3 separate regions of the Homo sapiens genome follow, and all the other regions are linked to region 1. The links are contacts of gene promoters, found by promoter capture Hi-C in blood cells and fetal thymus (Javierre and others, 2016). All regions are on one chromosome and are shown on one strand. Each heading gives the region's core, a stretch centred on a gene start or on the middle of the fragment in contact. The rest is flanking DNA. Distances are from core to core; before and after follow the strand shown. Region 1 holds the start of KIRREL2 (kirre like nephrin family adhesion molecule 2). Region 2 holds the start of MAG (myelin associated glycoprotein). Region 3 overlaps HPN-AS1 (HPN antisense RNA 1).

Region 1 (4,109 bases), core at 1,598-4,097:
CGAACTCCTGACCTCAGGTAACCCACCTGCCTTGGCCCCCCAAAGTGCTGGGATTACAGGTGGGAGCCGCTGCACCCCGCCACTTGGCTAATTTTTTTTAAATGTTTTTGCAGAGACAGAGTCTTGCTATATTGCCCAGGCTTGTCTGGAACTCCTGGGCTCAAGCAATCCTCCCATCTCGGCCTCCCAAAGTACTAGGATTACAGGCATGAGCCACCGCACCTGGCCCTTGATTTATCTTTCTTTTTTTTCTTTTTTCTCTTTTTTCTTTTTTTGAGATGGAGTTTCACTCTTGTTGCCCAGACTGGAGTGTAATAGTGTGATCTCGGCTCACTGCAACCTCTGCCTCCCGGGTTCAGGCGATTCTCCTGCCTCAGCCTCCCTAGTAGCTGGGATTACAGGCATGCGCCACCACGCCTGGCTAATTTTTTGTATTTTTAGTAAAGACGGGGTTTCTCCATGTTGATCAGGCTGGTCTCGAACTCCTGACCTCAGGTGATCAGCCTGACTCGGCCTCCCAAAGTGCTGGGATTGCAGGCGTGAGTCATTGTGCCCAGCTGATTTATCTTTCTATCTTTCTCCATCTGTTTGAGACTCTCTCGCTCTCTATATTAAGTTGTTAAATCTCAGTCAATCTTTATTTCACTGTGTCTCTCCATCTCTATATGTCTCTGTTATTCTGTTTCTCTGTCTCTGTTCTCACCTCTGTCGCTCCCCTCACCCCACAGTCTGTCTCACACACACCAGGAGCTCCATAAATATTTGTTCTCAGCCACACTCTGACCACGCCTCTTTCTCTTATGTGTCTCTCCATCTCCGAGTGGCTCTGCTCATCACATCCCTGGATTTTATAACCATATGCTGGTGGGCCTGCCCTCCCCGCGTGCACATACACTTGCCTGGGATAAGCTTCTTCTGCCTGCTTATCTCCTGCGGGAATTGGAAATGCTAGTTTTCTCCCTACCTCCCCAAGACCCCCGCCAATATCGTTCCCAGGAACAAGATGAGGCATCTGGCCTCAGCCCCCAGCTTCATCCTCGATGCTGGACTTCCATCTTCCCTCACATGCTTGACTCCTTGCCCTCCTCCCACCTCCCCTCTCCCAACTGCTCTCTACACCCCCTGGGAAATGGGCTGGATGCCGAGCTGGGGGAGTGGCTCTGTCCTGGGGGCCCTCGCCAGATGGTGTCCCTAGGTGCCAGAGCGTGGAGCTGTCCCTTGCTGGGGCCTTTAATAAGCACAAACCTTCCACCCTCCACCTTGGCTGTTTTCCTTCTCTGCATGCTCCTGGGACCTTGGGCTCTCCATCTTTCCATGTCCGTAGCCCCAGAGAGCCAGGAAGGGGAAGCGGCGTCAAGTGCCTGGAAAAACAGCCCCATGACTTGAGTTCCTCCCTAAGACTCAGGAGTTCCAGCCCCATGTCCATCCTATTTCAAAATCCAGGCACTAGATAAGCCACACAGAAGCCGGGAGTGTAGGCCCCCAGATCCCTCCCCTCTCAGACCCTGGGGTCTCAGTCCCTTCTCTCCAAGGACTCGGGAATTTGGGCCTCTGATCCTCCTGGCCACACTACCCACCCCCGCACCTCCCCATACACACACACACACACACACACACACACACACACACACACACACACACACATACACACAGGACTTAGGACAGATGTTCACGGTCTGATTTCCAAATCCTCCTGGGCCTGTGTGGGGGTGGGGAGAGATTGGCAGATAGATCCACCGACTCTTAAGACTTAAGACCAGATATTCTGACCCCTGTCACCCTCTTCCAAGTGCACCATGCACTTGAGTGCACCTTGAGTCTCCAGCCTCTCAAGGAACCGGGAGATCAGGCCATCAGCGTCTCAGCCAGCAAAGGCCTGAACCACCAGTCCCTTATAACCCTGTAAGTCCAACCCCCACTCCCAACCCCACTCCCCCATTTAGGGACACGGAGTCTGAGCCTAAGAACAGTGGAGAATCTGAATGTGGACCCTCCAGTTCTTACAGGTCCAGGAATGTCAGATCAGGGTCCCAGCCCCCCAGCCCTCCTTCAGGCTGCTCGGGGTCCCTCCCACCTGCTCGGCCAGCTGCGCAGCGTGGGAACGCCCCAGCTGGGCTGCATGGAGCCGTCAGGACAAGCTGCGCGGTTCCCAGCCTCCCTGCCTGCCCCGGCCCGGCACCGCCGCCTCCCAGCCGTCGCCGGGCAACCAGGCCGAGGGGCCCGGCCGGCCGAGTGGGGAGAGGGGTTGGGCTGGGACTGCGGGGTCCTGGGAAAGGAGGGGCCGAGGGCCTGGATTCCTGGGTCTTAGGACGTGCTGTAGTTTGCAGCAATAACAAGGGAACAGAGGGATATTTTGAGGAGGGGTTTTGAGGCTGGGGGAGTCGAGGTAGGGGTCCCAACTGTCCCCCAGGTATCGGTGTGCCCTCTTCCCGACACGCAGGCCCGGGGGAGCCCCGGACCCCGCATCCCCCAGGGCGCGGAAACTGGCGAGGCCCCAGGAGCTCCCATTTATAGCTCAGTTTCCACTGAGCGCAGTCCCTCTAGGACCTGGGCTGAGCAAGTTTCTTCCACTCTCTCCCTTCCCTCCTCCTCACCCCTTGCCTGCCCCTCAACCCCGGCAGGGCGCAGGTGTCCAACCCAGCCGGGACCCCCTCCCTCCTCGAACCCAGGTGTTCCGGCTCCCAGACCCCAATTGAGCTGGGGGCGCCCACCCGCCGGGGGATCCCGCCCTGCGTCCCCCATTCATCCGCGTCTCAGCCGCGGGAGTTTCTCAACGGGAAGAGGGCGGAGCTCCCGGGGGGCGGACCCGGGCGGGGCGAGCGGGATCGGGCCCTCTTGGGGTCTCCCAGAGACCCAGGCCGCGGAACTGGCAGGCGTTTCAGAGCGTCAGAGGCTGCGGATGAGCAGACTTGGAGGACTCCAGGCCAGAGACTAGGCTGGGCGAAGAGTCGAGCGTGAAGGGGGCTCCGGGCCAGGGTGACAGGAGGCGTGCTTGAGAGGAAGAAGTTGACGGGAAGGCCAGTGCGACGGCAAATCTCGTGAACCTTGGGGGACGAATGCTCAGGATGCGGGTCCCCGCCCTCCTCGTCCTCCTCTTCTGCTTCAGAGGGAGAGCAGGTACCGCACGAGGGGAGCGGAGGAATATGGGGTGGGGGTGGGGAGTTGCTTGCGGGCTGCCTCTTCACTAGCGAGAAGGGAGCTGGGGGCTGGGACTCCTGGGTCCTGAATGAGGAGGCCCCTGAAGGTGCTAAGCTCAGCCCTGCTGCCCCGAACTCTCCTAGGCCCGTCGCCCCATTTCCTGCAACAGCCAGAGGACCTGGTGGTGCTGCTGGGGGAGGAAGCCCGGCTGCCGTGTGCTCTGGGCGCCTACTGGGGGCTAGTTCAGTGGACTAAGAGTGGGCTGGCCCTAGGGGGCCAAAGGGACCTACCAGGTAAGAGTGTTCTCTCCACGCTGGGACGGGCTGGCTAGGGGGAGAGTTGCTGGGCTCGGCTGTACCTGCAGTTTCTATTTTGACATTTTCAAGTTTGGGAAATTGATGGGCTCGGGTAAACATTTAGGAGTCCTGATTTTTGAGCTGCTTCTTTGGGGGTGACCCACGGAGTTTGGGAATTATTATGTTATTGCAAAATAGTACATAGGCCAGGTGCAGTGGCTCACGCCTGTAATCCCAACGCTTTGGGAGGTTGAGGCCAGAGGATCGCTTGAAACCAGGAGTTTGAGACCAGCCTGGGCAACATAACAAGACCTTATCTCTACACAAATGTATATATATATTTTAAACAAATTAGCCGGGTATGGTGGTGTGCATCTATAGTCCCAGTTACTCAGGAGGCTTAGGTGGTAGGATTGCTTGAGCCTAGGAGTTCAAGGCTGCAGTGAGCCATGATCAAGCCACTGCACTTCAGGCAATGGTGAGACCCTGTCTCAAAAAAAAAAAAAAAAGAGAACATAAATGCAAAAAAGTACAGTAAATATAAATGGAAGATTTACCAAATAAAATAGACACACACAGCCAATACCCAAGTCCATTGCTAGCTCCCCAGAAGACCCCGTGTTCCTTTCCCCTATCATAGCCCCCTCCCCCTCACTCCAGAAGTAGTATCTAACC
Region 2 (4,206 bases), core at 772-3,271, 570 kb before region 1:
TCCATACAGGACTTAGCTTAACTGGCTCTAGAGCTGCTCAACCAAGGGAATGAGTGTGAAATTGCTTTGGAAACTGTCCAATGCTTCCTCAATGTAAAGGATTCATATTGACAGGAGAGGGTAGAGGCCTCCCTCCTGGCAGGTGGGAAACCTGAAATCAGGAATTACACTTAATGACACGGGGTGCTCTTCTCTCCTGAGCAAGCAGTTCTCTGGGGTGGTCCTAGAGAGATGGGAGAACATGTAAAGCAGAGATACTCAAATTTCAGCGTGCTCAAAATCTCCTGGAGGGCCTGCAAAAATGCAGATGGGTCCAGGCTCAGTGGCTCAAGCCTGTAATCCCAGCACTTTAGGAAGCTGAGGCTGGAGGATCACTTGAAGCCAGGAGTTCGAGACCAGCCTGGCCAACATGGTGAAAGCCCGTCTCTACTAAAAATACAAAAATTAGCTGGGTGTGGTGGTGCACACGTGTAGTCCCAGCTACTCGGGAGGTTGAGGCACGAGAATTGCTTGAACCTGGGAGGCAGAAGCTGAGGTGAGCTGAGACCTTGCCACTGCACTCTAGCCTGGGTGACAGAATGAGACTCTGTCTCAAAAAAAATTAAATAAATAAAAATAAAATGCAGATGAGGCTGGGCGTGGTGGAGCATGCCTATAATCCCAGTGGTTTACGAGGCTGAGACGGGAGGATTACTTGAGGCCAGGAATTCAAGGCTGCAGTGACCTATGATGGCACCACTGCACTGCAGCCTGGGTGACACAGTGAGACGATGTCTGTAAAACAAATAAACAAATAAACTGCAGATAGCTGGGCCTCCAGAATTTCTGATTCCACAGGTGCAAGGCGGGGCCCTTGACCTTGCATTTTGAGCAAGCTGCAGTCCTGTGGAGGACTGGTTGTGAAGCTGACACCATTGTCTGAGGGCAGCAAAGGCTCTTGGATGGATTGAGCCTCAGCTCCCATCTATGAGAGCTTTAAGCTTTAAGTGAGAGCTCCCCATGGCCGAGAGCTTCATTCTGAATTCCTGCTGCTAGGAATTCAAAACTCACATTGAAGTCCTAACGCCTAGTAGCTCAGAATGTGACCTTAGTTGGAGGCAGGGTCTTCACAGAGGTAATCAAGTTAAAATGAGACGGGAGAATCCTAATCCAATATAACTGGTTTCCTAAATCTGACAGGGTACAGTGACTCACACCTGTAATCCCAGCAGTTTGGGAGGCCAACACAGGAGGACTGCTTGAGATCAGGAATTCAAGACCAGCCTGGGCAATATAGTGAGACCCTGTCTCTAGCAAAAAAAAAAAAAAAAAAAAAAGTGCCAGTAGTCCCAGTTACTATTGAGAGGCTGAAGCAAGAGAGTCGCTTGAATCTGGAGGGTGGAGGTGGCAGTAAGGTATGATTGCACCACTGCATTCCAGCCTAAATGACAAAGCAATACTATGTCTCAAACATAAATAAATAAATAAATAAATAAATAAATAAATAAATAAACGGCAAATCTGGGCAGGGGTGAATACAGGGGGAAGGGAATGTGAAGATGAAGATGCCATACAGAGAAAGGCCCGGAACAGATCCTCACACCCCTCAGAAGGAACCAACACTGCCAGCACTTGATCTTGTTGATCTTGGAATTCAAGCTCAATTCTGGCAGGGTTTTTTGTTTGTTTGTTTGTTTGTTTGTTTGAGTCGGAGTCTTGCTCTGTTGCCCAGCCTGGAGTGCAGTGGCGCAATCTCCGCTCACTGCCAGCCCCGCCTCCCGGGTTCACGCCATTCTCCTGCCTCAGCCTCCTGAGTAGCTGGGACTACAGGCGCCTGCCACCATGCCCGGCTAATTTTTTGTATTTTTAGTAGAGACAGGGTTTCACCGTGTTAGCCATGATGGTCTCGATCTCCTGACCTCGTGATCTGCCCGCCTTGGCCTCCCAAAGCACTGGGAGTACAGGTGTGAGCCACCGTGCATGGCCTCAATTCCGGTTTTTAAGCCACCCAGTTTGTGAAACTTTGTTGTAACAGCCCTGGAAAACTGATACACCTGCTCTCTCGTAAAAGATCAGCTGATACGGCAGCACCGGCCACTGGATCTGCGGGTCAGTTGTCCCCTTAGACAGGGCACCTGCCCGCCAGTCACAGGTCCTGTCACCCAGCCCCTTCCTCTCATGGGCTCCAGCCGCCTCGCTCCCACAGGTCTCCTGGAGACCCGAGTTGCTGATGTCAGCGACTATTGCGAGTGCTCCTGTGGGACACTGTCCTCTCCCCAGCAACAGCCTTCAGTTCACACCCAGGGAGGAGATGGAGCCCCACACTGCACCAGCACACGACTCCAGCTCCAACTAGGTGGGTGTTGATGCTGAAGGCTGTGACATGCAAATACCCCCCAGGATCTCCTTGTCACCCCGACCACCACCACCAAAGCCCAGGCACCAGGCCCCTCTCTTCTCCAGGACCCAGGCATTCAAGCCCCGCCCGACTCTCAATGGTCCTTTGTCCCGGACTGGGAAAGGCACGGGCAGAGTCTGACATCATGAAGCCTGGGGTGGGGGTGGGACTCCCCCTCCCCCTCCAACTCCCCCCCAGCCCCACAACGCTTCTCTCCCTGGTCTGAGGGATTTCCCCGCCCCTCACCCCCTGGGTTCTCCCTTGAGAGCGAGGACCCCCCCTCCCCACTGCTCTGGCCTGAAGGAGGACAGGAGATGTCCCAGTGAGGCTGAACAGCTCATGGTGAAATCACTGCTGCACTTTGTCACGCCACCTCCAGCTGCCCCGAGCCCCCACCCACCTTGCAAAAGTCATGACCAAGGGGTGGAATCTGCACTCAGAGGGTCCTTGCCCAACTTGGTCAGCACAGTCCTATGTGCACCAAGCACTGCCCCGGGGACAGAAGGGTGCACATGACAGACAGAGAGGCAGATAGGTTTCTGGTGAGCCCCTGCCTCTGAGAGCTCCTGGGTTAGTGGGAGGCAGAGGCGGGCAGACCTAGGGTGCACACGGGCCAGCCTGCCAAGGCTACAGAAGGAAAGGACAGCATTGCAATGGAGGGGCCTGGCTGATGGGCGAAGATGGGAAAGCTTCCCAGGGAAGCGGCACCCAGGCTGCTGAGCCTACAGGATGGGTGAACGGCAGCCAGTGCCAGAGTGGGGAGTGCTATGGGGTGGGGACTGCTTTCCAGGAAGAATGAGCAGCAGGTGCACAGGCCTTGAGTCTGAAGGTGCCCTGGGGCTCTGGGGAACACATTCAACCACCCACACTGTTTATTAAGCTCAACTGCCTGCCAGGAGCTTGTCTACGAGCAAGGATGGATTGAGAATATCCAAGACGAAGCTTCTGGCCTGGTGGAGGTCACGTTCTCATGAAAGGAGTTGGTGAACACGGAAGGTCATTTCAGATGGCAAGAGGAGGTGACACTGACGTTGAGGGTGGAAAGGACCTGTCTCCTCCTGCTGCCCACCTAATGTTGCCACCAAGATTCCCTGAGGACAATGCCTCTGTCCCTCAGCCTGGGACTTCCAAAGAGATTAGACTGCCCCCCCACCCCCGGGACCCAGAATCAGGGTGTACAGGGATGGAAGATGGGGAGAGAGCAAGGCAGCCACTCCCGACCCCTCCAGGAAAGAGCTAGGAGAACCCAGGCGTCAGGCTGCCCAGTCCGAGCCCCGTGGTGACAAGGGCCCCTTTGTGCCCCCCTCCCCCGGGGGTAGGGAGGAGCTGGGCCCTGGAGGCAGGCGGCCCCTGGCACCCAGGGGGAGGGGAGGGGCTGGCAAGTGGGGGCCTAGACCCTGGAAGGCAGGGGACTGCGAGCTGGGCTGGCGGAGCAGAGGTGCAGAAGCAACTGAGTCCAAGTGAGTATGGTGGCAGGGAGGCCAGGGCAAGGGGAGCAGGGCACCGGGGCAGTGGCACCCAGACGTGAGCAGGGTCAGGTGCTCTGGGTGAGGGAGCATCGCTGTGCACCGCTACTGATTTAGGATGCAGGAGTGTGTGGCTTGGGGCTGCTTTGGGGATGGGCTCGGACCATCGCTGGGGCAGCGATGGGGCTCTGGGAAGAAACCACAGAGAGAAAAAACAAAGGGCCCCCCCTCAGCACCCCTTGTGGGTGAAGATTTTGCAGGAGAGGTTTCCTTGGGGTTCCCGAGTGCGGGGCAGATGGGGTGGAGGAGGTCTGCATCTGGCCGAAGAATGGAAGGATGTCCAGGTGATCAGACACCTGCAGG
Region 3 (4,243 bases), core at 624-3,123, 770 kb before region 1:
TAGTCCCTCACTCCTCTCAGAGCAGGAAGCAAGTTCAGCATCTTGCAAACAAAACCTCTCTTTGTCCAAAGGAAACAGCCCATTGCAAGCTCCGAAGGCCAACACAAGGGACTGGTGGTGGGTGCTCTGGCCTCTGGCCTGCCTGGCCCACCCCTCCTCCCAAAGCCAGAGACAAGCCCCGGGGGCATCACACACTTTGACTAAGGTTAACTGAACACCCACTAAGTGCTAGGCAGCATTCTAGGCGCTGCAGACACAGCAGTGACCCAAACAGACAAAACCTTGCCCTCATGGAGGCGACATTCCAGTGGAGAAGACAATCAGTCAACCCAGCCAGTAAGTAGGTGATTAAACAGTAAGTCAGGCGGGGCAGGGCTGGGGAGTGCTGGAGAAGGGGCATGCAGTATTAAACTGGGGGGTTAGGGTTCCCTGGGGTGCAGAGAGGTGCCCTGGGAGTGGAGACTGAAGGTGGTGGAAAAGGGAGCCGAGCTGGCTGGGGGAGCGGGGAGGCGGGGGGACATTCCAGGCAGCAGGAATCCAGGAAACCCATCCAGGAAGGGTGCAGGTGTCTCCTCCAGCCCCCAGACTCTGGGTGCTCAAATTAAGATGAACTTTGAGCTGGAATATCTCCCACATCCCACCCAGGACATTTCTCCTTTTCTGACTTTCTTTATTAATCCTGAGACTGGGGGACACCCCCACTCCGCCAGCGCACACACACACACACACACACACACACACACAAAACCCTCCCCAGCAATCTCTCCTCCAGTATGTTTTTCCCCTGATCTGTGAAACCCCCAAAGACAAGGGTTAGGGATGGGGTCTCTCTTGGTCACCAGTGTGTCACCAGAACCTACCATAAGGCATTTAAAAGCATAGGTTAGGGCTGGGCACAGTGGCTCACACCTGTAATTCCAGTACTTTGGGAGGCCGAGGTGGGTGGATCACTTGAGGTCAGGAGTTCAAGACCAGCCTGACCAACATGGTGAAACCTTGTCTCTACTGAAAATACAAAAAAAAAAAAAAAAAATTAGCTGGGTGTGGTGGTGTGCACTGGCTGAGGCGGGAGGATCGCTTGAACCCAGGTGGAGGTGGAGGCTGCAGTCAGCCAAGATGGTGCCACTGCACTTCAGCCTGGGTGACAGAGCAAGACTCTGTCTCAAAAACATAAAAAAAATGAAAAAGCATAGGTCAGATCTCATCAGATTCCTGATTAAAAGCATCCCTGGGTCCCCCTTACCTCTGGGATGAAAACTGACCTCCAAGCCTCCTCCTAAGAGGCCCCCACAGCGGCCTCTCTCTGCTCACCCTGCCTCCTCCTACACTGGCTTTGTCTAGCTCACTCCACACCGAGGGTCCAGCCACACTGGCCTCTCTGCTGTCCCTGGACCACGCCAAATGCCTTCCCACCCCTGGGTCTTTGCATCTGCTGTTCCCCCGGCCTGGAATGCTCTTTCCCAGACGTACACACGGCTGGCTCCTTCCATCATTCAGGCCTCAGCTCCAATGTCACCTCTGCAGAGAGGCCTCCCTAGCCACTGTCCTCAAATCAGCCCATGGGGCTCAGCCACTCTGCGCTACCTAAAGCTGGGTAACACAGATCTAACCCAGTTTCTCAATCCAAAATTATCTTTTATTTATTGCTAGTTTGTCGCCCATTTCCCCCCTCTAGAATAGGCCAGCACACTTTTATGATAAAAGGCCAGATAATAAATATTTTAGGCTTTCAGGGCCACACTCTGCCACAACTACTCAAAGCTTCTGTTGTAACATAAGAACAGTCATAGACAATACACGAACCGGCGAGCTGGCTTTCATGAAGACATTATTTATAGACACCGGAATTTGAATTTTACATGATTTTCACACCTCACAAAATTTCCTCTTTTGGTTTCTTTTTTTCTAACCACTTAAACATGTAAAGACTATTTAGATTGTAGGCTGTGCCAAAACAGGTGGAGGGCCAGATTTGGGCCCAAGGGTGAAGCTTGTCAACGTCTGCCCTAGAACATCTGTTTTATGAGGTCAGGGATCTCTGTCTTGGTCATTGCTGTGTCCCCAGGCCCTGGGATGTTCCCGGCATGTAGTGGATGCCAAAGTTGAACAAATATGTGCTATAGAAAAGGCTTCGACACATTCATTAATTCTTCCAACAAATATCCATTGAGGTTTGCCGTGAGCTGGGCTCTGGGGAGATAGCAGGGAACATAATTTGAACGTGGGGCAGTGAGTTGACATCCTTGCATTGAATGACTTGTGTTCCTCCAGAGCTGACCTGGCCCCCCGACAGCCACTACGAGCTGTGTGGCTTCTCCTGTCCCAGCTCCTGCACCGAGCCTGCCCTGCCCGACAGCTGTCTGACACCATGCCAGGATGGCTGCCAGTGTGACCCAGGATTTGTGCTCAGTGGCACGGACTGCTTGACCCCCATCCAGTGCAGCTGCTCCATGGGGGGCAGATACCACCTGGCCGGGGAGCCATTCTGGGCTAGGGAGCACTGTGAGCAATTCTGCCACTGCGAGGCTTCCACCCATGCTGTGTGCTGCTCCCCCTCCTCCTGTGGGCCAGGGCAGAGATGTGGGACCCTAAGGGGCATCTTTGGGTGCCACCCATTCTCCCCTGGCACCTGCCAAGCAGCCGGGCACTCACACATCATCACCTTTGATGGGAAAACTGTTGAGTTCTCAGGTACCTGTGTGTCCGTCTTTGCCGAATCCTGTGGCTCTTCCGGCTCACTGCCATTCTTCAGGATACAGCTGTGAAAGGAGAACAGATCCAGCAGCCCCCTCATGCTCATCTTGGAGGTGTCTGTCCAGGTTAATGGGACCCAGGTCCACCTGCGGAGGGACAGCCCAGGCATGGCTCAGATAAGCACCAGCTTTGGGACGTGTCGTTTCTAGGAACCCCAACCCTTCACCCAAACCCATAGGCCCAAGGGAAAAACTTATTCTGTCTCCATTATTTCTACATTTTACCTCTATTTTCTGATTATATGCCCATTTTTGACTATATCCATCAGATGCATTCAGCTAATATAACAGAAACACTCTCAGACCAGCTTAAGAAAAAAAAGAATTACTGATTTACACAATTGAAAAAAAAAATCTACAGGTGTATGGATTCAGGCATAGCTGGACCCAGGTGCTTGAACAATATGTCTCAAATCTGTCTCAATTTCTGGGCTCTCCTTTCCTTCATTTTCAGACAGGCACCATCCCATCCCACCTTGTAGGGACAAGGACAGCTGCCAGGTTAGCAAATGTCACTGGAGGAAAAGTGTCCCTCACTGGCCCAGCTTGAGTCATGTGACCACCCCTGAATCCCTGATGGACTAGCTGATTGGCTGGGCCTGGGTCATGTGCTGGAAGTTAGGATAGGATTGACTTTCTGTGAACCACATGGATTGATTTTGGAGGGGTGAGTTCTCAGGGAAATCCAGAGAAAGGAGAAATGAATGCAGAACAGGATAAAACAAGAGATGGTCACTATTATAGTTATGTCCTTGTTCCTTCATCTAAAAATGTTTTACATGTATTGGTACGGTGGCTTACATCTGTAATCCTAACACTTTGGGAGGCCAAGGCAGGTGGATCCCTTGAGCCCAGGAGTTCAAGACCAGCCTGTCTCAAGCAGGCAATATAGCGAGACCCCGTATCTAAAAAAGAATTAGGTGGGTGTGTTGGCGCACGCTTATAGTCCCAGCTTATAGTCCCAGCTACTTAAGAGGCTGAGGTGGGAAGATCGCATGAACACAGGAGTTCATGGCTGCAGTGTGCCATGATTGTGCCACTGCATCCAGCCTGAGGGTCAGAGTGAGACCCTATATCAAAAAAAATCAACATTTTTCACGTATTTGAACACCTACTATGTGCCAAGCAACACTGACCCAACTGTGGTCCTATGCTCCCGAGCCTTCCTTTGATTCTGCCTGCTCCTTAGGTGAATGGTGAGACAACAGCCCTCCCCGTAAGCCTGAATGGGGGCAGCCTTGCCGTCCACTGGAATGGCCTCTTCTCCCTGCTGCAGTCAGACTTTGGCCTCTGGCTCAGCACAGATCTCACCTACAGCCTTACCCTCACCCTGCCCCACCTCTACAAGGGTCACACCTGTGGGCTCTGAGGCAACTTCAACTGCAACCCCAGTGAGGACGCTAAGGCTGACATTACCTTGGAGAAGCAGAGCAAGGCTTGTAGGGACAGCTGTGGGGCTGCCTGTCCAGTCTCAGTCTGCAATGACCAGG

The links. Contacts are between HindIII fragments. The CHiCAGO score rates a contact against its expected background, and 5 or more counts as called.
Region 2: a contact is called between a fragment that was not itself captured here and the fragment with the promoter of KIRREL2 in region 1, in 1 of 17 cell types (erythroblasts). The highest score is 5.2, in erythroblasts.
Region 3: a contact is called between a fragment that was not itself captured here and the fragment with the promoter of KIRREL2 in region 1, in 1 of 17 cell types (M1 macrophages). The highest score is 6.0, in M1 macrophages.

What each region holds. Positions count from the first base shown.
Region 1 is chr19:35,854,064-35,858,172 of GRCh38, forward strand. It overlaps KIRREL2 (kirre like nephrin family adhesion molecule 2), which reads left to right and starts at 2,848. Exons shown (of 15, transcript NM_199180.4): 1 at 2,848-3,117; 2 at 3,282-3,431. The coding sequence starts at 3,057. The HindIII fragment of the contact is 4,263 bases long and covers 908-4,109 here.
Region 2 is chr19:35,288,368-35,292,573 of GRCh38, forward strand. It overlaps MAG (myelin associated glycoprotein), which reads left to right and starts at 3,794. Exons shown (of 11, transcript NM_002361.4): 1 at 3,794-3,837. The HindIII fragment of the contact is 2,086 bases long and covers 979-3,064 here.
Region 3 is chr19:35,084,261-35,088,503 of GRCh38, forward strand. HPN-AS1 (HPN antisense RNA 1) reads right to left here. Exons shown (of 4, transcript NR_024562.1): 3 at 2,696-2,840. It also overlaps the pseudogene LOC100420797. Among named protein-coding and RNA genes, the nearest start is that of HPN-AS1, 20 kb to the right of the region's middle. RefSeq lists enhancers at 1-672, 1,959-2,008, 2,119-2,228. The HindIII fragment of the contact is 229 bases long and covers 1,760-1,988 here.